Linked DNA regions of Homo sapiens: all the other regions are linked to region 4. The links are contacts of gene promoters, found by promoter capture Hi-C in human tissues and cell types (Jung and others, 2019). All regions are on one chromosome and are shown on one strand. Each heading gives the region's core, a stretch centred on a gene start or on the middle of the fragment in contact. The rest is flanking DNA. Distances are from core to core; before and after follow the strand shown. Region 1 has its middle 51 kb from the start of MIR5683. Region 2 has its middle 77 kb from the start of MIR5683. Region 3 overlaps LY86-AS1 (LY86 antisense RNA 1). Region 4 holds the start of F13A1 (coagulation factor XIII A chain). Region 5 has its middle 65 kb from the start of NRN1. Region 6 overlaps F13A1 (coagulation factor XIII A chain).

The links. Contacts are between HindIII fragments. The study calls those that stand out against the background at their distance.
Region 1: a fragment that was not itself captured here is called in contact with the fragment with the promoter of F13A1 in region 4 in 2 of the 25 tissues and cell types used here (H1 embryonic stem cells and hippocampus).
Region 2: a contact is called between a fragment that was not itself captured here and the fragment with the promoter of F13A1 in region 4, in 5 of the 25 tissues and cell types used here (bladder, dorsolateral prefrontal cortex, liver and 2 more).
Region 3: a contact is called between a fragment that was not itself captured here and the fragment with the promoter of F13A1 in region 4, in 1 of the 25 tissues and cell types used here (mesendoderm cells).
Region 5: a fragment that was not itself captured here is called in contact with the fragment with the promoter of F13A1 in region 4 in 2 of the 25 tissues and cell types used here (H1 embryonic stem cells and spleen).
Region 6: a fragment that was not itself captured here is called in contact with the fragment with the promoter of F13A1 in region 4 in 4 of the 25 tissues and cell types used here (H1 embryonic stem cells, dorsolateral prefrontal cortex, mesendoderm cells and 1 more).

The regions. Positions count from the first base shown.
Region 1 is chr6:6,117,088-6,120,223 of GRCh38, forward strand. No RefSeq gene overlaps it. Among named protein-coding and RNA genes, the nearest start is that of MIR5683, 51 kb to the right of the region's middle. The HindIII fragment of the contact is 3,395 bases long and covers 157-3,136 here.
Region 2 is chr6:6,091,204-6,094,382 of GRCh38, forward strand. No RefSeq gene overlaps it. Among named protein-coding and RNA genes, the nearest start is that of MIR5683, 77 kb to the right of the region's middle. The HindIII fragment of the contact is 3,167 bases long and covers 175-3,179 here.
Region 3 is chr6:6,524,698-6,528,214 of GRCh38, forward strand. All of the region lies in intron 3 of LY86-AS1 (LY86 antisense RNA 1), which reads right to left. Among named protein-coding and RNA genes, the nearest start is that of LY86, 62 kb to the right of the region's middle. The HindIII fragment of the contact is 6,608 bases long and covers 1-3,517 here.
Region 4 is chr6:6,319,221-6,322,325 of GRCh38, forward strand. It overlaps F13A1 (coagulation factor XIII A chain), which reads right to left and starts at 1,442. Exons shown (of 15, transcript NM_000129.4): 1 at 1,367-1,442. All of the region lies in intron 1 of LOC124901253 (a long non-coding RNA gene), which reads left to right. The HindIII fragment of the contact is 8,313 bases long and covers 1-3,105 here.
Region 5 is chr6:6,070,543-6,073,812 of GRCh38, forward strand. No RefSeq gene overlaps it. Among named protein-coding and RNA genes, the nearest start is that of NRN1, 65 kb to the left of the region's middle. The HindIII fragment of the contact is 4,133 bases long and covers 1-3,270 here.
Region 6 is chr6:6,176,627-6,179,814 of GRCh38, forward strand. All of the region lies in intron 11 of F13A1 (coagulation factor XIII A chain), which reads right to left. Among named protein-coding and RNA genes, the nearest start is that of MIR7853, 8.8 kb to the left of the region's middle. RefSeq lists an enhancer at 1,256-1,755. The HindIII fragment of the contact is 3,214 bases long and covers 223-3,188 here.

The DNA.
Region 1 (3,136 bases), core at 604-3,103, 200 kb before region 4:
TTCTCTTTTTCCTTCTTTATTAGTCTGGCTAGCAGTCTATTTTGCTAATTTTTTCACAAAATCAGCTCCTGGATTCATTAATTTTTTGAAGGGTTTGTGTGTGTGTGTGTGTGTCTGTTTCTTTCAGTTCTGCTCTGATCTTAGTTATTTCTTGTCTTCTGCTAGCTTTTAAATTTGTTTGCTCTTGCTTCTCTAGTTTTTTAAATTATGATGTTAGGGTGTCAGTTTGAGATCTTTCCTGCTTTTTCTTGTGGGCATTTAGTACTATAAATTTCCCTCTTAACACTGCTTTACCTGTGTCCCAGAAATTCTGCTATGTTGTCTCTTTGTTCTCATTGGTTTCAAAGAACTTCTTGATTTCTGCCTCAATTTTTTTATTTACCTAGGAGTCATTCATAAGCAGGTTGTTCAATTTCCATGTAGTTGTGTGGTTTTGAGTGAGTTTCTTAATCCTGAGTTCTAATTTGATTGCACTGTGGTCTGAGAGACTGTTTGTTATGATTTTAGTTCTTTTGCATTTGCTGAGGAGTGTTTTACTTCCAGTTATGTGTCTGATTTTAGAATAAGTGCCATGTGGCCCTGAGAAAAATGTATATTCTGTTGAATTGGGACGAAAAGTTCTGTAGATGTCTATTATGTCCGTTTGATCCATAGCCGAGTTCAAGTTGTAAATATCTTTGTTAATTTTCTGTCTTGTTGATCTGTCTAATATTGACAATGGGGTGTTAAAGTCTCCCACTATTATTGTGTGGAAGTCTAAGTCTCTGTATAGGTCCCTAAGAACTTGTCTTAGGCATCTGCATGCTCCTGTATTGAGTGCATATATATATAGGATAGCTAACTCTTCTTGTTGCATTGATCCTTTTACCATTATTTAATGCCCTTCTTTGTCTTTTTTTTATTTTTGTTGGTTTAAAGTCTGTTTTATCAGATGCTAGGATTGCAACCCCTGCTCTTTTTTTGTCTTCCATTTGCTTGGTAAATATTTCTCCATCCATTTATTTTGAGTCTATGTGTGTCTTTGCATGTGAGATGGGTCTCCTGAACACAGCACACTGATAGGTCTTGACTCTATTCAGTTTGCCAATATGTGTCTTTTAATTTAAGGCATTTAGCCCATTTACATTTAAGGTTAATATTTTTATGTGTGAATATGACCCTGTCATCATGATGCTAGCTGGTTATTTTGCACACTAGTTGAAGCTGTTTCTTCATAGTGCCATTGGTCTTTATAGTTTGGTGTGTTTTTGCAGTGGCTGGTACTGGTTTTTCCTTTCCATATTTCATGCTTTCTTCAGGAGCTCTTGCTAAGCAGGCCTGGTGGTGATAAAATCCCTTAGCATTTGCTTGTCTGGGAAGGATTTTATATCTCCTTCACTTATGAAGCTTAATGTGGCTGAATATGAAATTCTGGGTTGCAAATTATTTTCTTTAAGAATGTTGAATGTTGGCTCCCACTGTCTTCTGGTTTATAGGGTTTCTGCTGAGAGGTCTGCTGTTAGTGTGGTGGGCTTCCCTTTGTAGGTGATCTGACCTTTCTGTCTGGCTGCCCTTAACATTTTTACCTTCATTTGACCTTGGAGAATCTGATGATTATGTGTCTTGGGGTTTTGTAGTAGGCTAATCAAGATTTCATAATAGTTTGAAAATTTAACTTTTATCATTAAAATATGTATCTGAGAGAGAACTTTTAATAATTCATTGACTGTGATAATTGATTCTTTGTAAACATGTTTGGGGTCATAATTTTAAAAACCAAACTGTCTTTTACTAAAGAAAGTTGAAGAAAATTATTTCTTATATATTTCATAAGGAAAGATCACAGTACAAATAGAAATCAACAAATTCATCAAACGAAGCTACTCCTGACTTTTGTGCATGTTCTGTTGACTATAAAATTGTGTAAATTATTAATGAAACTTTCATATTTTTTCCTGATTTTTATTTATCTTAATTTTTAAAATTGTTGCTTCCTGGCTGGGAGTGTACAGGTTCTCATAATCTTCTTTATTTTTTTCTGTTGTCATTTCCATCATCCATCTTTTTTACTATCCTGTTTTGTTTGTTTTGTTTTGTCTTGAGATGGAGTCTCTTTCTGTGGCCAGGCTGGAGTGCAGTGGTGCCATCTTGGCTCACTGCAACCTCCGCCTCCTGGGTTTTAAGTGATTCTCCTGCCTCAGCCACCGATTAGCTGGGACCCAGGCATATGCCACCATGCCCAGCTAATTTTTTGTATTTTTAGTAGAGATGGGGTTTCACCATGTTGGCCAGGATGGTCTCGATCTCTTGACCTTGTGATCTGCCCACCTCAGCCTCCCAAAGTGCTGGGATTACATGTATGAACCACTGCACCCGGCCTTTAAAAAAAAATTTTCTGATATTGACTATTACAGGGTGTACTTTCCCTTGCAATAACATTAACGAGCTTTGACATTTGCCTTTTTATTTTGACATCATTTCAAACTTAAAGAAAAGTTGAAAGTATGCATACAAAAACCTTTCATGCTTAACCATTTCAATGTAAGTTGCTGACACGATACCCCATCACTTTCTGAAAACTTTAGAGTATATTTTCACTGAACAGTGGCATTCATCTACATACCTATAACAGAATCATCAACATCAGAAAACTAATCCTCCATATTAATTTATTTATTAATGTCATTAACATCGAATCCTAAGGCCCTGTTCGCATTTCAACAATGGTCCCAACAATGCTCTTTATGGCAAAATAATCATGTCTTCAGAGTCCTTCAACCTCAAACAATTACCCAGTCTCTCCTTGGCTTTCATGACCTTGACAATTTTGAAGGTTACAAAACAGCTATTTTGTAAAGTGTTTCTTTCCCTCCCCCCTTTTTTTTGTTTGTGCAAATTTATAGCATACATGTGAAATTTTGTTACATGTATATAATGTGTAGTGATCAAGTCAGGGTATTTAGGGTGTTTATTATCTAAGTACAATACATTTTTGTTAACTATTGTCACCTTACTCAGCTATCAAACATTGAATGTATTCCTGCTGTTTAACTATATGTTTGTACCCTTTAACCCACTTCTTTTTAGCCTCCTTCCAGCTCCCCTCACCTTTACCAGTTTCTGTTATCTATCTTTTCACTCTCTATCTCCATGTGAT
Region 2 (3,179 bases), core at 508-3,007, 230 kb before region 4:
CTGGAAACTCTTTCAATGGTAACTAAAGTCTTCTGGTATAAGAAACTTAAACCTATATTCAAAATAGATACCAAGGCAAGAAAAAATCATAGGAACTCACCCCCACTAAAGGGGGGTGAATAGTCACTTTTCGAGGGGCCATGGCTGGATAGAAACTGCCGGTCCTTGCTGCATTAGGGTATTTAGGTCATTTCTTGCCCTCAAACAGACCAATGAATACTTTGAAAAATGGAGAGAAGGTGACTCATCAAGTGAAAGCACCTAAAATATGTATCAGTTTTTCTTCTTTTGCCATGAAACAATGCTTTTTCCAAAGAAACAAACATAGAGTTCTGAAGAAATTGTAATCAATGCCTTTCAAAATCAATAGTAATGATTTTGGATTTGAAGTACTGGAAATATTTGGAGAGTCGATGGCAACATTTGGAGCCATTTTGTGAGCCAAAGGGCTTTTGTTCTACACCTGGAAAATGCCCCAAACAATTACCAACAGTGTGTAATGTTCATAGTGCAAAATGACTGTCCCAGTGTGAGTGAGGAGCTCAGATGGTAGAAATCCACTTTGCCCAATTTAGCTCTTGGGACCACTGAAAATGACCCCTACATTGAATGGAATCCAGGAAAAGAGAAACCTCACTACTTTCAGTTTGAGTGTTCTCCCTCAACCCTGATTATGCTGAGTGAAACAATGAATGTAGAGGAGAGTGTTTTCTGCATCTTCTTCACAGCCTCATGCCAGTATCTAACACACTTAATGCTACTTTATATTTCTGGCCAACCCCTATAATCCACTTACGATAGATTTTTGAACTGCTGTCAGTGCCCATGCCCTACCTCATGCACCAGCAGTGATGGACATGTCCTCCATAGCTAATAAAAGAGAGACAGTTATCGGAACTATTTTCTAGTTGCAGGAAATTCTCCTGTGTGAGTAAAGCTCTCTGTTTGAAAAATGAACTGCTTATGCTGTTCAGTAAGTTCACAAGCTGTTCAGTAAGTTCACAGGGGTGGAATTAGGATGGTACCCTCTGTGCTTTAATTCCCCAAAATTCAAGATCCAACTATGAGGGATCCCTCCCAGTGATAATGTTGAGGTTGAAAACCTTTCCAGCATTTTTATATGTTCCCTTTCTTGTAACTCTTGATCAAGGCTTCTTACAAAGCCCAGTCTTTCTAGGTCAGCTTCCTAACAAGATCAAGTCATAGGATTTTCTTTCGCCCTTGTACATCCGTCTAGGATTATCTCTCCCACTTTATAAACCACCTTTCCTAACTCCCTTTGGTCCTTCTTAGGAAATTTTTCTTTCCTTTTTAATTCACGGATCGATAGAAGGCCAGCAGGAGTACCACCAAGTCATAGATTCATTCCTTCACCTCAAAATCAGTCACATCAAAGACAAAAATGCCACCAGTTTAGGTGAGCATGGAAAGCTTGGCTAGAAAGAGAGAGAAAGAAAGGTGAAGGAGAACACTTCTTAATATTTTCTCTCTTTACCCCTCAAAAATTTTTATGACTTGTTGCCAAAAAATGACATAGATTTGTTGCACGTTGCTTTGCTCCTTCTTTTCCGCTAACAGTATCTTAGCTTAGATGTATAAACTTAAGGACCAGAGGCTGGGGCAGATAAATATCTAGTCAAACTTCATTGCATTTAATGCAACCTTCACTGGCCTTCCTATGTCTGCCCTTGTCCTCCTTTGGTCATAGTCAACAGAGCAGCTGGAGTGATTCTGTTAAAATCAAAGTCAGGTCACACGACTCCTATACCCAAAAGCCTCTGGTAGTTTCCCACTTCAGAGTAAAAGCAAGGCACCTGGAATGGCTCTAAAGCCCTATGTGATAAAATCTGCACTTACCTTTTTGACCTCAGCTTCCAGAACTTCGCACTTATTCACCTCTGCTCCAGCCACCTGGTTTCCTTGCTGTTCTTTGAATGTGACAGATACTTTTCTGCCTCCAAACGTTGCTCTTGTTATTCCTCAGTTTGGGAAACGTTTACCCAAGAGATGTACGTGGCTCACATCCTCTTTTTCTTCAGGTATTTTCTCAGTTGTCAACTCTTTTCTGAGGCCTTCCTTGCCTAGTTCATCTAAAATTACAATACCTACCACACTGTTATTTAACTAAATTGTTTATTACCTGTCTCCCTCAACCAGAATCTATGCACCATGAGGGCAGATATTTTGTCTGCTTTGATCACTGCCCTGTGGCTTGTGCTCCGGCACAGAGGAGGTAATGATGCAATGTGTTGAATGAGCAGATGCATCACATCACCCCACTGGGGGCCAGTCAAGCCATGAGATGGGAATAAATTAATTGCTCCCTCAACTGTGATCTGTCTTAACAGATGTTTTGTGGCTGTGACTACAGTGTTTGTGAAAGTTGACCTTGATAGTTTGTGAAGAAAATTGATTTGTCACTGATAGAATTGCAAGTCACTGATGGAAAGTAAAATGATCCAGAGTGAGAAAGAGAATCAAAGCATCTTGATAACTGTCATTAACCAGGAGTAATGTCAAAGTAGCTCATCGAATCACAGAAAATGAAAGTATAGGAACGTCAGCATCAGCCTTCCTGTGCTAAAATTCGCTGTCATTGAGAGGTTGCTTTTCTGGGTATATTTTAAATATTCCCATCTGGTACATGATCAGGGTCTGTTAGGAGATGAAGCTTGATTTTGATCCTGGATTCTTTCAGTCCATCACATTTGGATAAGGGGGAAATACTGGATTAGTACCAGACTTTGTCTATCCTTATGGAACATCTTGTTCATTTGTTATTTTCATTCTCACCTTCTACCTTGTATAGAATATGTGCAATACAAATTAGGGGGCCTATTTGTTTGTTTTTGGCATGTTAGTTCACAAAATGGTCAAACCAGCCATGCAACCTTGTCCTATTATTGATTATTCATCCAAGAATTGACTCCTGCTTGCCTGTGAGTAAACTACCTCATACTGGAGAAACTTCTGTCTGTGTAGCTCACACATCCATCAAGATATGGAATGTTACCCCAAGAACTATTGAAATAAACTTTTTAAATAGAGTATTTCCTTATCCGAGAAAATCCTTTTTCCCCTTCAAAGTCAATCCTTGCCTTTGCCCATACTCACAAGGAGGCAACAATTTTTCTGATTTATACCAACATAGATTAGTTTTGCCTATTCTTTAATTTCAT
Region 3 (3,517 bases), core at 643-3,142, 210 kb after region 4:
AGTTGACGGAATCGAAGAAAGAGGATGCCTTAAAAATAAAAATATCCAGCTTTTCTTCCTTCAACAATGCAATTGAAAACCATGTAGTACATGACTATCTCCTGGAATGAGTAAATGGAAAGTTAAACAAAATCTTCAAGTATCCCCAGGTGAGATGCACGATGGGGGGAAAAAAGGCATGTAAAGGTTTAGATTTAGTTTTCTTTCTTTTTTAAAATTTCCAAGACTCACACCTTCTGCAAGTTTGAATGTATTAACCTAAATCTCACAAGAACACGCTCCAAGAACATCCTGTCCCATAAAACCATAGGAAAGAGGAGCATCTTAGGTTGGGCTCTCCAGAAGCAGATCCTGTGAGGAGGATTCCTGTGCAAATGACTTTTTGAACATGCTCTTAGAGGAAGCCAGTAAGAGCGGGGAGCAGGGCTGGGAAGGGAAGAGGCCAAGCAAGAAGGTGAACTCACTCAGGCAAAGTCTTGCAGAGAGTTAGGCTGCAGGGAGCTCAGGAGTGTAAGGCCTGTTCTGCCATGCAAGGGAGCTGAGGCTTTCAGACCCCTGTAGCCAACAGCCATTGGATAAGCTCACCCCAAGCAGATGTAAATTCCCCTGGCACTTCCAGCTCTCAGGTTGTGCATGCCAGGGAGGCTCGAGCACCCTGAGATTGTGGAAGAAGAAAGCCCCCTCAAGCCAACAGGCACACAAGAATGGCACAAAGGAAAGTAGCAATGATTGGGCAATGCACAGACATTATCTGCTATAAGGAGCAAAGAATGAAATCTGAGAGATTCAGTTTTCCCATATACAAAATAAGGTTAACGGTCCAGCACCCATCATCTGTAAAACAGGGAAGGTACTAACGCCTGCTTCATTGGGTGGTTGTGAGGATCGCATTAGACAATTGAGGAAGACATGTCTTCAGCTCTCAGAAATACCAGCGTCTGTAAATACCTACAAGCAAGTAGAACAGCAATTTCAGCTGGGCCTATGGCTCCAGTTATTTTGCCAAAAGAAATGTAGTGACCACACACGTATCCAAAAATCTCTGAGGTCTCTACCGTCTCTCAGCAATTTGGAGAATGCAGGAGGAACTTGGACAACTTCTAGGGGGAATTTAAAAAGCACTTTAAAAAGCATGAACCCACCAGTTTGAACTGTACACAAAGCATTTCTTTCTAAAAATGTCCACCTCGGGTCTGTACAGTGGTTTTTGCCCTGTTCGTCTCTCAGGCACACTTACGAGGAGAGCTTTCAATGCATCCAAACAATTGCTTACAAGCACCAACCTACCGTGAGGTTAGCCCCACACTGAGCTGAGGAGCCATGAGGGAGCTGTTTCTATGGCATTTGAGTAGCACAAAATGTGATTTTTCTCTGGAGAAGACTTTTGAGAATTAGAGGGAATTAGTCATATTTTCCAATGTGGGAATTTTAACAGTTGTGAAATTATGAAGAAGACCTGACTCAACAATTTCAATATTGCAATATGTCACCTAGCTGTCTTGTTACTCAAAATTACATGATTTAAAAGACAGTGACTTTAAAAAGAACCCAACCAAGGTTTGAAAGAAAAAGGAGATATGCAGACAAAGCAAAGGAAAAATATAAAATTGCTGAACATTTACAGAGCTAAGTTTAACAATTCTGGGCTCATTTAATACAGTTTTTATCTTAAATAGAACATTGAAAGGCATGTTTATCCTCTCAGTGAATTATATGTTAGAAATGCACTCTTTAAACAGTGGGTTTTTTTAAACCTACAATATGGAATCTGAACTGGATTTAACATGTTGCTAAATATTCAAATGGGTCATCCCTTCATACTCCCTTTTCGTAGGTTAAAAAAAGATGAGCAGACGTTCCGGACAAAGATGAGTAAAGCCAATTCAAGACCACCTTTGTGCTATACTTTTTCCAGCCTCTTAATTAGGCTACTCCTCATTAACTACCCTAAATGAGCTACAAATAATGATCGGGTCCTGTCCTTTATATATGAAAATTAGTCTATTAGCAAGTGCATGACTAGGGTATTTTCCAGGAGTAGTGAAGGGTTTGAATTTTTTCAAGTACACTCTCTCTGGGCTTTCCTTGTCCTCAAAAGCATACCTTTGCAGGACAGCTAGCCAGGGTGAGAAGGAAAGTAAAAGACTCTAAAACAGACCATTCTAATGAGCTTGGTCTCATTAACATTGGGTGATAATTAGGTAACCTATCCAGAACAAATGAAACACTGGGCAAATTTGAAGAGATATAGATAGCTCCATGGAATGTTAAATACAAAGCTAGAAGTGGTATTAGCCCTTGACTAACTAAATGAATCACTGAATAGAACAAGCACTAGTGCTTATAATCAAGAACCTTAAGGAAAAAAGGGTGGGTGTTATGGTAAAAGAATGATTGCTACCTACAACTCACCAAATTCCCACATACACACATTTCCTGACATATATTTTCTCCTATTGTAATAATACCAATTGAATATGTTAAGAGACCCCAGGCTTATTGTAAACAGTTAAGAAAGAGTATCTAAATCATCCCAAAGAAGTTTATTCCAATTTGTTAACTTCAAAAACTTATCACTCTTTATGCACTTTCAACAAAATAGTTGTCCTCAAATCGATCTATAAATTAAATGCAATTCCAATCAAAATTCTGGCAGAATCTTGTATGAACTTGACAAATTCATTTAGAAAGCTATCTGGAAGAACAAAGCAAGGAAACTTGCTTATCCAGACACTAAGAAACAACAAAGATTAAGTAATTAAAAAGAAAAAAAATATGGTCTTGGCATTGCCTAAGACAGAGATCAATGGAACAGAACAGGAAGCCCAGAAACAAACCCAAGTAAATGTGTGAATTTGTTCTGTAGCAGAGATGGCATTATAAATGAGTGAGGAAAGGATGAAACTTTTTAGTAGCTGATGTTAGGAAAACTTCACAACATAAAGACAAATATCTACCTCATGGCATATAAAAATTCAATTCTAAATTGATTAAAAACCCAGATATGAAAATTGAAACTATGAAATAAGTATAAAATTTTTTTTTAATATTGTGACATTAGGATGTACGGAAAGAGTTTTCAAATAACACTCTAAAAACACAAGGTGAAAAAAAAATTGACTACAACAAAACTGAAGATTTCCGTTCAATGTAGAATATCACAAACAGGGTTAACATATAGGTGATAGAATAGGAGAAGAGAATGCAATATCTAAAATAAATTGGAGGTTAATATCAAAGTTATACAAGGAATTCCTACAAATTAACAAAAACATATAGAAAGCTCAATTTTAAAATGTCCAATGTATAATAGGTAATTCACAGAAGGAAGAACTCAAATAATTAATAAATACATGAAGAAATCCTCAACTTTATCCAACAATAATTGTTGATATGTAAATTAAAACAACTTTATGACCATTTGGTTGACAAAAATGTGAACATTGGTAAATACCAAATGTTAGTGATGATGTTGGCATACAAAAACTTCTTGCACTGCTGGTGTGAGAGAATACTG
Region 4 (3,105 bases), core at 192-2,691:
GGATACATCAGAGAACAAAACAGAATGTTTGCTCTGATAGATTATAGTCTGATAGGGTTAGGGTGGAGCCCAAGAAGAGCCATAAGTAAATCCACTTAGGGGTGAGGAGGTAGGAACTGCTTTGGAAATTGAGCCACATGGAGGAGGATAAGGAGGTGGAGAGGTTGGGCATGCAATTTTCAATAGGGCTATCAATAGGCTTAAGAAGTCAGGGTTGCCAACATTTCCCATTCCCCAAGCCTGCTTCCCCTTCCCTTGGAGCTTGTGCAGGCACTGAGCCAGTTTAAACAACACACACCTGACGGTCAGTGCCCAGTAAGTACTTGTTGACCAAATGACCAAATGAAGGGGGACTTTGTTTCTGGGCCCAGTGAAGGTTCCCCCTTGATCCCCTGGATTACCCAGTCATGACTCCTGGAGACTTGGCTATTTTCAAAAACCAGGCACACCCCCAAGAGGTGAAGAGTCCCCATTATAGAGGCCACCAGAGTAGAGAGATGGTTCCAGAGACATGTGGAGCACTAACAACATGCTGGAGAAAAGACAACCACGCCTAAGGTGTCTGGTCTGAGAAGGAGACAGGAGTGTTTGGATGCATAAGGTGTGAATGGGTATCCATAAGTATAGATAAATATATTTACAGTCATTGGTGAGCTGACGGGGGAAGGGAGGGAGAAGAGCGAAAAAGGGTTAATGATAGGGAGAAGGCTGCGAGAGCCATCCTCTAGTGAGAAATACCGAAGGTAGGCTGCGGCATTGCCAGGGGTGCAGAACAGTGTGGCGCGCTGTCGGGAGACACAGTGCTAAGGGGGAGAAGGGGGGAGCCCCAGGTGCACGCCTGGCTGGGTGAGTGCGGCGGGCAGGAGCCCTCGCTTCTGGGCGGGTCTAAGGAGGAGAAGTGGCTCGAGTTCAGCTCCAAATTGGGACGGAGGCAGGCGATGCGCAGGAGTGGGGAGGCGCGCAGGAGTGGGGAGCCAAGCCGGCGGGGTTCCAGTCTAGCAGGCTGTTCTCACTTGGCCCCACTCCCTCCACCTTTTGTGTTCCAGCTCCATAATCTGCTCCCTGAGGAAAGGGGGCTCGTCCCTTGGGGAAGCACCTCCAACTCCCCCATCCCCATTTGGTGGCATTCTAAGCAAGCAACGGCTTCGGGAGAGCTGCCTCGAGAGCCTGAGAGAAGTCCCGCTTAGAAGCTGGGCTGGGCAGGTGCGGAGTTGGGGGCGGGAAGCCAGGATTGGGCAAGTGGAGCTGCCTGTGACCGGCGCCACAGGGCCCAGAGCAAGCCGCTTGCTGGTTCAACCAGGAAACCGAGGTGCAGAAGGTGGACGCAGCGGGCCCTGGCTCATAGGGTGCAGGGTCGGTGGCTTACCTGCAGGCGCTCCCCTCCAGAGGTGCCCTCGCGTGGGCTTGCTCTGTGCGCCTCGGGGACTTCCTCAAACGGACTCGGGAAAGACAAGACAGTTGGCTCTTAAATAACTTCCTAAGAGGAGCCCTCACCCTCCTCCCCTGTCCCACAGGGTTTTCTCCTCCCCCTTCTCCACAGCTGGAGCCAGTAGGGGAGCTCAGAGGATTTTCTATTTACTTCATCTGGCCTGTTATCCCGGCAGGTGCGCCCTTCTCTCCCACTTGCCCCTCTGACTCCCAATTTCCCATTCCCACTTCTCCTCCCCATCCCCATCCCTAGATCTGCCCTCCCCACCGCAACCAGTTGCTGGGAGTACCAGGCAAGGGGCCCTGCAGTGCCAGGAAGTCCCCACCCGTCCCCTTTGGTCAGAGGGTCTGGGAGGGTTTCCTTTACAAAGGAATGCTTTTGCCTGGCAGGTCAGCTGCTACTGTGGCTTGGCAGGAGGGGGGTCTGCCCTCCCACAGACAGGTCACACAGACAGTTGTGACCATGCATGCAGTGAGAGCAACGTGTCCCTCCTGTGCAAATAAGGCATGGTCTGCATTCCTGAATCATCCCAGAGCCACAGCCACCGCCTAACCACAAGACTTCCTGCAGGAATGGGATGCCTAGCCCCAAGGAAGATGAGTAAACATCTTTAATAATGCCATGCAGATTAGAAAATAACACTTGGTTTTCTCTGAAAATCATTTTAGTGCATGTTCAAAAATTAGAAAATTTTCCCCCTAAAATTTTAATTTTTTTCTTTTACTCTTTCTTTCTTTCTTTCTTTCATCTTTCTATCTTTCAGATGAAGTCTTGCTCTGTTGCAAAGGCTGGAGTGCAACCTCCACCTCCCGGGTTCAAGTGATTCTTCTGCCTCAGCCTCCCAAGTAGCTGGAACTACAGGTGCATGCCACCATGCCCGCCTAATTTTTGTATTTTTAGTAGAGATGGGGCTTTACCATGTTGGCCAGGCTGGTCTCGAACTTCTGACCTCAGGTGATCCACCCTCCTTGGCTTCCCAAAGTGTTGGGATTACAGGCGTGAGCCACCGCACCCAGTCAAACATGGCTATTTCTAACCTTCTTTACTGTCTTCAAATTTCTGACCCTGCCACTCAATCTCCCAATGTTATAAAGAAGAAAAAAAAAGATGCCATTGGTTAGAAATTCTCTCAATTTTCTGCTACCAATCTATGAACCTGCCTGCAACCTTATCTATCTTTTCCTCTTTCTTCTTGTTACTGAAGTTGGAAAGGTCCCTCCTCCCTCTGCATCTCCAAACCAGGCTTCTGCGTTGCCTTGTTCTCCGGGGCTTTGCTGTGACTCTTACGTACTCTTCCTCTTGCAGCTTCAAGCTCCTGCTTGCTAATAGTGGGTCTTCTCAGCATTCATGCAATTTCAGGTCTCTTCAGTATTTTTTTAAAAACCTCCCCCAACCTATGTCCCCACTCCTGCTGTTACTCCTCCTCTCCTCCCCTTCATCACTAAGTATCTGCCATCTGGCTTCCGCCTCATCATTCTACTGAAAGTGGAGGTCACGGTCTCCAAGGCCTGTGCTCAGGCCAAAAGACAGGATTCAGTTCTTATTTACCTGACCTTTTGGAAGCATTGAACTCTGTCTTTGAAGGTATTTTTCCTAGGCCTCCTTGACATTGAACACTCTGTGGTTTCCTCCAGTGCAGCGCAATATTCCTTGATTGTCTGAGGAACTCCCATAGT
Region 5 (3,270 bases), core at 221-2,720, 250 kb before region 4:
CCTGCCTTTTTTTGCTTTCCATTTGCTTGGTAGTTCTTTCTCCATCCCTTTATTTTGAGACTATGTGTGTCTTTGCACATGAGATGGGTCTCCTGTATACAGCACCCTGATGGGTCTTGACTCTTTATCCAATTTGCCTGTGTCATTTAATTAGGGCATTTAGCCCATTTACATTTAAGGTTAATATTGTTATGTGTGAATTTGATCCTGTCATTTGTGATGCTAGCTAGTTATTTTGCCCATTAATTGATGCAGTTTCTTCATAGTGTCAATGGTCTCCACAATTTGGTATGTTTTTGCAATGGCTGGTACCAGTTATTCCTTTCCATGTTTAGTGCTTTGTTCAGGAGCTCTTGTAAGGCAGGCCTGGTGGTGACTAAATCTCTCAGCATTTGCTTGCCTGTAAAGGATTTTATTTCTCCTTCACTTATGAAGCTTAGTTTGGCTGGATATGAAATTCTCGGCTGAAAATTCTTTTCTTTAATAATGTGGAATATTGGCCCCCACTCTCTTCTGACTTGTAGGGTTTCTGCAGAGAGATCTGCTGTTACTCTGATGGGCTTCTTTTCGTGGGTAACCGGACTTTTCTGTCTGCCCTTAACATATTTTCCTTCATTTCAACCTTGGTGAATCTGACAGTTATGTGTCTTGGAGTTGCTCTTCTTGAGGAGTATCTTTGTGGTGTTCTTTGTATTTCCTGAATTTGAATTTTGGCCTGTCTTGCTAGGTTGGGGAAGTTCTCCTGGATAATATCCTGAAGAGTTTTTTCTAACTTGGTTCCATTCTCCCCGTCACTTTCAGGTACACCAATCAAAATGTAGATTTGGTCTTTTCACATAGTCCCATATTTCTTGGAAGCTTTGTTCATTTATTTTCACCCTTTTTTCTCTAATCTTGTCTTCTCACTTTATTTTATTAATTTGATCTTCAATCACTGATATCCTTTCTTCTGCTTGATCTAATCTGCTATTGAAGCTTGTGTATGCTTCATGAAGTTTTCGAACTGTGGTTTTCAGCTCTATCAAGTGTTTTAAGCTCATCTCTACACTGGTTATTCTAGTTATCCATTCATCTAACCTTTTTTCAAGGTTTTTAGCTTCCTTGTGATGGGTTAGAACATGCTCCTTTAGCTCAGAGAAGTTTGTTATTACCCAACTTCTGAAGCCTACTTCTGTCAATTCATCAAACTCATTCTCCCTCCAGTTTTGTTCAATTGCTGACGAGGGGTTGCATTCCTTTGGAGGAGAAGAAACATTCTGGTTTTTGGAATTTTCAGCCTTTCTGCTCTGGTTTCTTCCCAACTTTGTGGTTTTGTCTACCTTTGGCCTTTGATGTTGGTGGCCTATGGATGGGGTTTTGGTGTGGCTATCCTGTTTGTTGATGTTGATGATATTCCTTTCTGTTTGTTAGTTCTCCTTCTAACAGGCAGGCACCTCAGCTACAGATCTGTTGGAGTTTGCTGGAGGTCCACTCCAGACACTGTTTGTCTGGGTATCACTAGCGGAGGCAGCAGAACAGCAAATATTGCTGCCTGATCCTTCCTCTGTAAGCTTCATCCCAGAGGGGCACCAGCCTGTATGAGGTGTCTGTTGGCCCCTACTGGGAAGTGTCTCCCAATCAGGGTACACGGGGGTCAGGGACCCACTTGAGGAGGCAGTCTGTCTGTTTTCAGAGCTTGAACACTGTGCTGGGAGAACCACTGCTCTCTTCAGAGCTGTCAGGCAGGGATATTTAAGTCTGAAGAAGCTGTCTGCTGCCATTTGTTCAGATATGCCCTGCCCCCAGAGTTGGAATCTAGAGAGGCAGTAGGCCTTGCTGAGCTGTGGTGGGCTCCACCCAGTTCGAGCTTCCCTGCCACTTTGTTTACACTGTGAGCTTAGAACCGCCTACTCCCACCTCAGCAATGGCAGACGCCCCTCTCCCTGCCAAGCTCCAGCATCCCAGGGTGATCTCAGACTGCTGCACTAGCAGTGAGCAAGGCTCTGTTGGTGTGGGACCTGCTGAGCCAGGCACAGGAGGGAATCTCCTGGTCTGCTGGTTGTGAAGACTGTAGGAAAAGCACAGTATTTTGGCAGAAGTGTACTGTTCCTCCAGGTACAGTCATTCATGGCTTTCCTTGGCTAGGAAAAGTAAATCCCCCGACCCCTTGCACTTCCTGGGTGAGGAGATGCCCCACCCTACTTCAGCTCACCCTCTGTGGGCTGCAACCATTGTCCAACCAGTCCCAATGAGATGAACGAGTTACCTCAGTTGGAAATGCAGAAATCTCCCGTCTTCTGCATTGATCTCGCTGGGAGCTGTAGACCGGAGGTGTTCCTATTTGGCCATCTTGGAAGCGACTTCCTCCTTCCTTTTCTGAGTTTCAAAACTGTTTATATAGGTTGGGAATTTTATTTTCTAAAAGTCTGAGTAACTTATTTGTAAAACATTTCAAACCTGGAGGCTTTGGGGTAGATACTTCTCTTTCTCCTATTTTTCCAAAGTTACTAATCCATGCCAGTTGCAACAACTAGTTCTTCTCCTCCTCGTCCTCCTCCTCCTCCTCCTCCTCCTTCTTCTTCTGAGATGTATTCTCACTCTGTCACTCAGGCTGGAGTCTCAGCTCACTTCAACCTCTGCTCCTGGGTTCAAACAATTCTGCCCCAGCCTCCAGTGTAGCTGGGACTACAGGCATGTGACACCACTCCTGGATACTTTTTTGTATTTTTACTAGAGACAGGGTTTCACCATGTTAGCCAGGATGGTCTCAATCTCCTGACCTCGTGATCTGCCTGCCTCAGCCTTCCAAAGTGCTGGGATAGCAAGCATGACCACTGCATCAAGCTGCAACTTCTTCACAAGCAATTTTGGCAGCGTCTACATTTGCATAAAATGGTCTATTTTATTGTGATCTTAATATTTTAAACAGAATTGTACATTGTGTTCTATTATAATTTTTATTCTCTTTGTACCTGTGCTGTGCATTTACTTGTTCATGATTTGAGTTTCTTAATGGTATGACAGCATTTTTATTTAAATGTAAATAAGGGATAGGATATAAATATGGAAAGACAGAAACACAATAACAGCAGGTGTCTCGGGGTTGTTGGATTATAACTGATTTCTTCTTTGTTAATATTTTCAATGACTTGGAATGCATTAATTTTTAATTGGGGAAAATATAATCTTTAACTTAAGCAATATATCCTGGCTACCAAATTTTGTTTTCCAATGGTACTTGAGTTGCTTGTTGTTTTTTTCTCCCAATTAAAGGTCACAATCATGGGGAAA
Region 6 (3,188 bases), core at 580-3,079, 140 kb before region 4:
AGAGCACTCGGAGGGAGGTAAGAAAAAGGGAAGGAGGAGTGAGGACAAGGGAAGTGCAGTGAAATCTTTTAGCAGAAATCATCTGGCCAATAGATCCATGAGAAGAGAACATTAATGATGATCACTTTGGATGCGGGCCAGAGATGCATTGAGGCAAAATGCAGGAGGGAAATTCGAGCATCAGGAACACATCAGAGAGGAGCTGAGCTGGCCAAGGTGAGGTGAATGGGAGAAGAAGCCTTGAAGCCAGCCACAAGCAACTTCACAGCCTGCCATGGGTGCAGGAACCTGGAGCTTCCTTCTGGGGAAGCACTGTCCTCTGTGAGCGGAGACCGCCAAACAGAAGCAGGCTGGGGCTGTTCCAGGAAGCGCAGGCCCAGAGAGGAGAAAACAACTGCACGGCTTTCCCAGAGCCTGGCAGAGTAATTCCTGTTTCTCTACAGTTATGCTGCGTGCTCTGGCATCTTACATAATTCAGGGCCACAGGCAACATTTTAGTGCAGTGAGAGACATATCCAAAGCCAGATTATATTTTCTGAGATTCTTCTGCAGCCTCTGGGTGCAAAGTCAAAAATATCTTTCCATTAACTAGGATGTAATAAGAGAGCCCTTTTATGTTGGACGAAGCCTCTCATTCTTCTGGCTTTAGCTCCACTGTCACCTCCCCTGTCCTCCCCCTCTTACCTTGTGTAATGTGTCCTCAAACCCTAGTGTTCTCGGCTCTCCCTAACACATACCTGGTTTTATTTCCTCTTCCTTGTCACAGTACTAGTTACTGTGTGACATTATCTTCCTTGCTGGAATGCAAGCTCCATGAGAACAGAGACATGTTGTCCACCTCTGCATCCCCAGGCCCTGAAACCCAGCCTGGCACAGAGGATCTGAAGGATTGAGGTTTGGAGAAGCATTTTGCTTTCAGCCAGAGACAAAACTTTCCTCTTCATAATAGTCCAGTTTAGGACATTTTATGTTCAACTAAGCCTAGCTGTGAAAGTGCCTCCCCAGTAACCATTCATTCAAATCATCTCATGCTGTTGGAAACCCCATAATGTTCCAAACACCGTGCTAGGCACTAGGCACAGAGGAGAAACAGTCTTTCCCTCACTGGTGCAGAAGGAACACGTGAAGAGCAATGGCAGCACACAGGTGCTCACCACAGATGCTGGGACGGAGGTTGGCCTGCAGTGCATGGGGAAAGGAAGGGGCATGGGAGGCCTCTCGGAGTTTTTGGAGCGAGGGCAAGACCAGGGATGCAGGTGGGGGGCTTGGCTTGTTGGAGGAACTGCTGGCAGGTCCCTGGCCTCTGCATACAATACCTGTGGGGGCATGCTCAGGAGGTGCAGTGACCAGGTGCCGAAAAGCCACTTAGCAAGAGGCTTTGTGAGTTAGGACTGGATGCCCTGGAGGCCACAGGGAGAGGGGGGGGGGGGTGGGGCTTTTAAGCAGTGCTGGGAGAGGCTCAGGTTTATATTTCAGATATTACTTTGGCAGCAAGGCAGGGGCTAGACTGAGGGAAGGAGGGCCTGAGGAGGTGAGGTGGAATTGGGAAGCTAGAGCAAGTATTTTTCCAGGAGAAAACTAATCATAGCCCAAACTAATAGCAGTAGTATGGCAGGAATAACAGAATTACTAGTAATAGGGGAAACTTTTATTGGACACTTATTATGTGTCAGGCACTATATTAAGAGTTGTACACACCAGATAATATTTAATTTTTAGGCTACAGAGCTGGAGGGGAGGGGATGCATTCGAGAACAATTTCAGAGGGGACATTTAGAGGATTTGTTGCTTAACTCATTCTTAAGTAGCTAAATTTGAGTGGATGGTGGTTCTCTTCACCAGAGTAGGGGGAGTGGGAGAAACGGACCTGAGGTGAGGGAGAGAGTGAGAGGTGTCATTTGGGAAGTTCCGTGTCAGGTTTCTGTAGGACATTTAGGTAAAGTCCCGGTGGAGACACAGACATGGGGTGATGGTACATATGTGAACATTAACACCAGCTATGTGGGAAGAACATCAGGTGGGTGGGAATGGAGCCCAAGGATAGATGCCTAGAATGAAATGGAATTTGAAAAGGGTGAAGAAAGGGGAAAAGCTTATAGTCAAAAAGAGGTAGGAAAAGAGGGTCAGGCAGGAGGGGGTGGAACCAGGAGAAAGTAACATTGTAGAAACAAAGAAAAGACAGAATTGCAAGCAAAGGGAGTGAACAACAGCACCAGGAAGTATAGGAAGGTCAAGTAAGCTGAAGTCTGCAAAATGTTTCTTCCCTGTGACAATTGGGTGGTCTTGGCAACCTTGAGAACAACTTCAAGGAAGTGCTGGTAGCAGAAATCAGGACAGAGTGTGCGCGGAAGGAGTGGAGAAGGAACACAGCAGGACGCAAGTCCAGGCAGCGCTCCAGGACGGCAAGGAGGCGAGGAGGAAGAGACAGTGGTGAAAAAGATTTTTGTAATTTTTGTTTTTAACACAGCAGATATTTGAGCCTGCTTAAATGCTGATTGGAAGGAGAAAATAGAGAGGGAGAGGTGGAAATAACAGTGACCCTGGAAGTAACTGAAGGAGCAAAGAGGGAATGGAATCAAGACACTGTTATCAAAGAAGATATATTGCCACAGGAGAAGTCTTCAGAAATTCTGATTTTCAAAGTCTTATCGTTTCTTAATTATATATCTTGAAAAAAGTTATAAAGTTAATAATAAGCTTTAGTAAGTTGAAGTGAACCTGATCTTTCCATGATTTAATTCATTAAAATAGTTAAGTCCTAAATCTAGTAATAATTTGTTTCCTGTGATTCTACTCATTTCCATATTTTGGTATCTACACTCAGCATTTGTGGATCAGAGAAATTATAAGAGATTCAACGGTGAGAATCAGGGTGGTAAGTACTGAGCCACGGATATGACGAGTCCTCACTGCATGCCAGTGGCCAATGGCGGCCATCAATCCTTCTACCCGCCACATTCAGATGCAGTCTTGGTGTTCTTCTCAAAACAACATTCTACTTGGTCACTTCCAAAGTTCCAGTTTGAAATGTGTATGCCACCCTTGATTAAGAAACTATCCACTTGGGGTCAAACTCCAGCCCCGAAGCAGGATGAGTCGTCGCTTACAACCATCTATGTGGATTTAGGGATTCTTCTAGTTGGACCAGACCTCCACACTGTCCCTCTCCCTCAGCCTTGCCTCCTTGC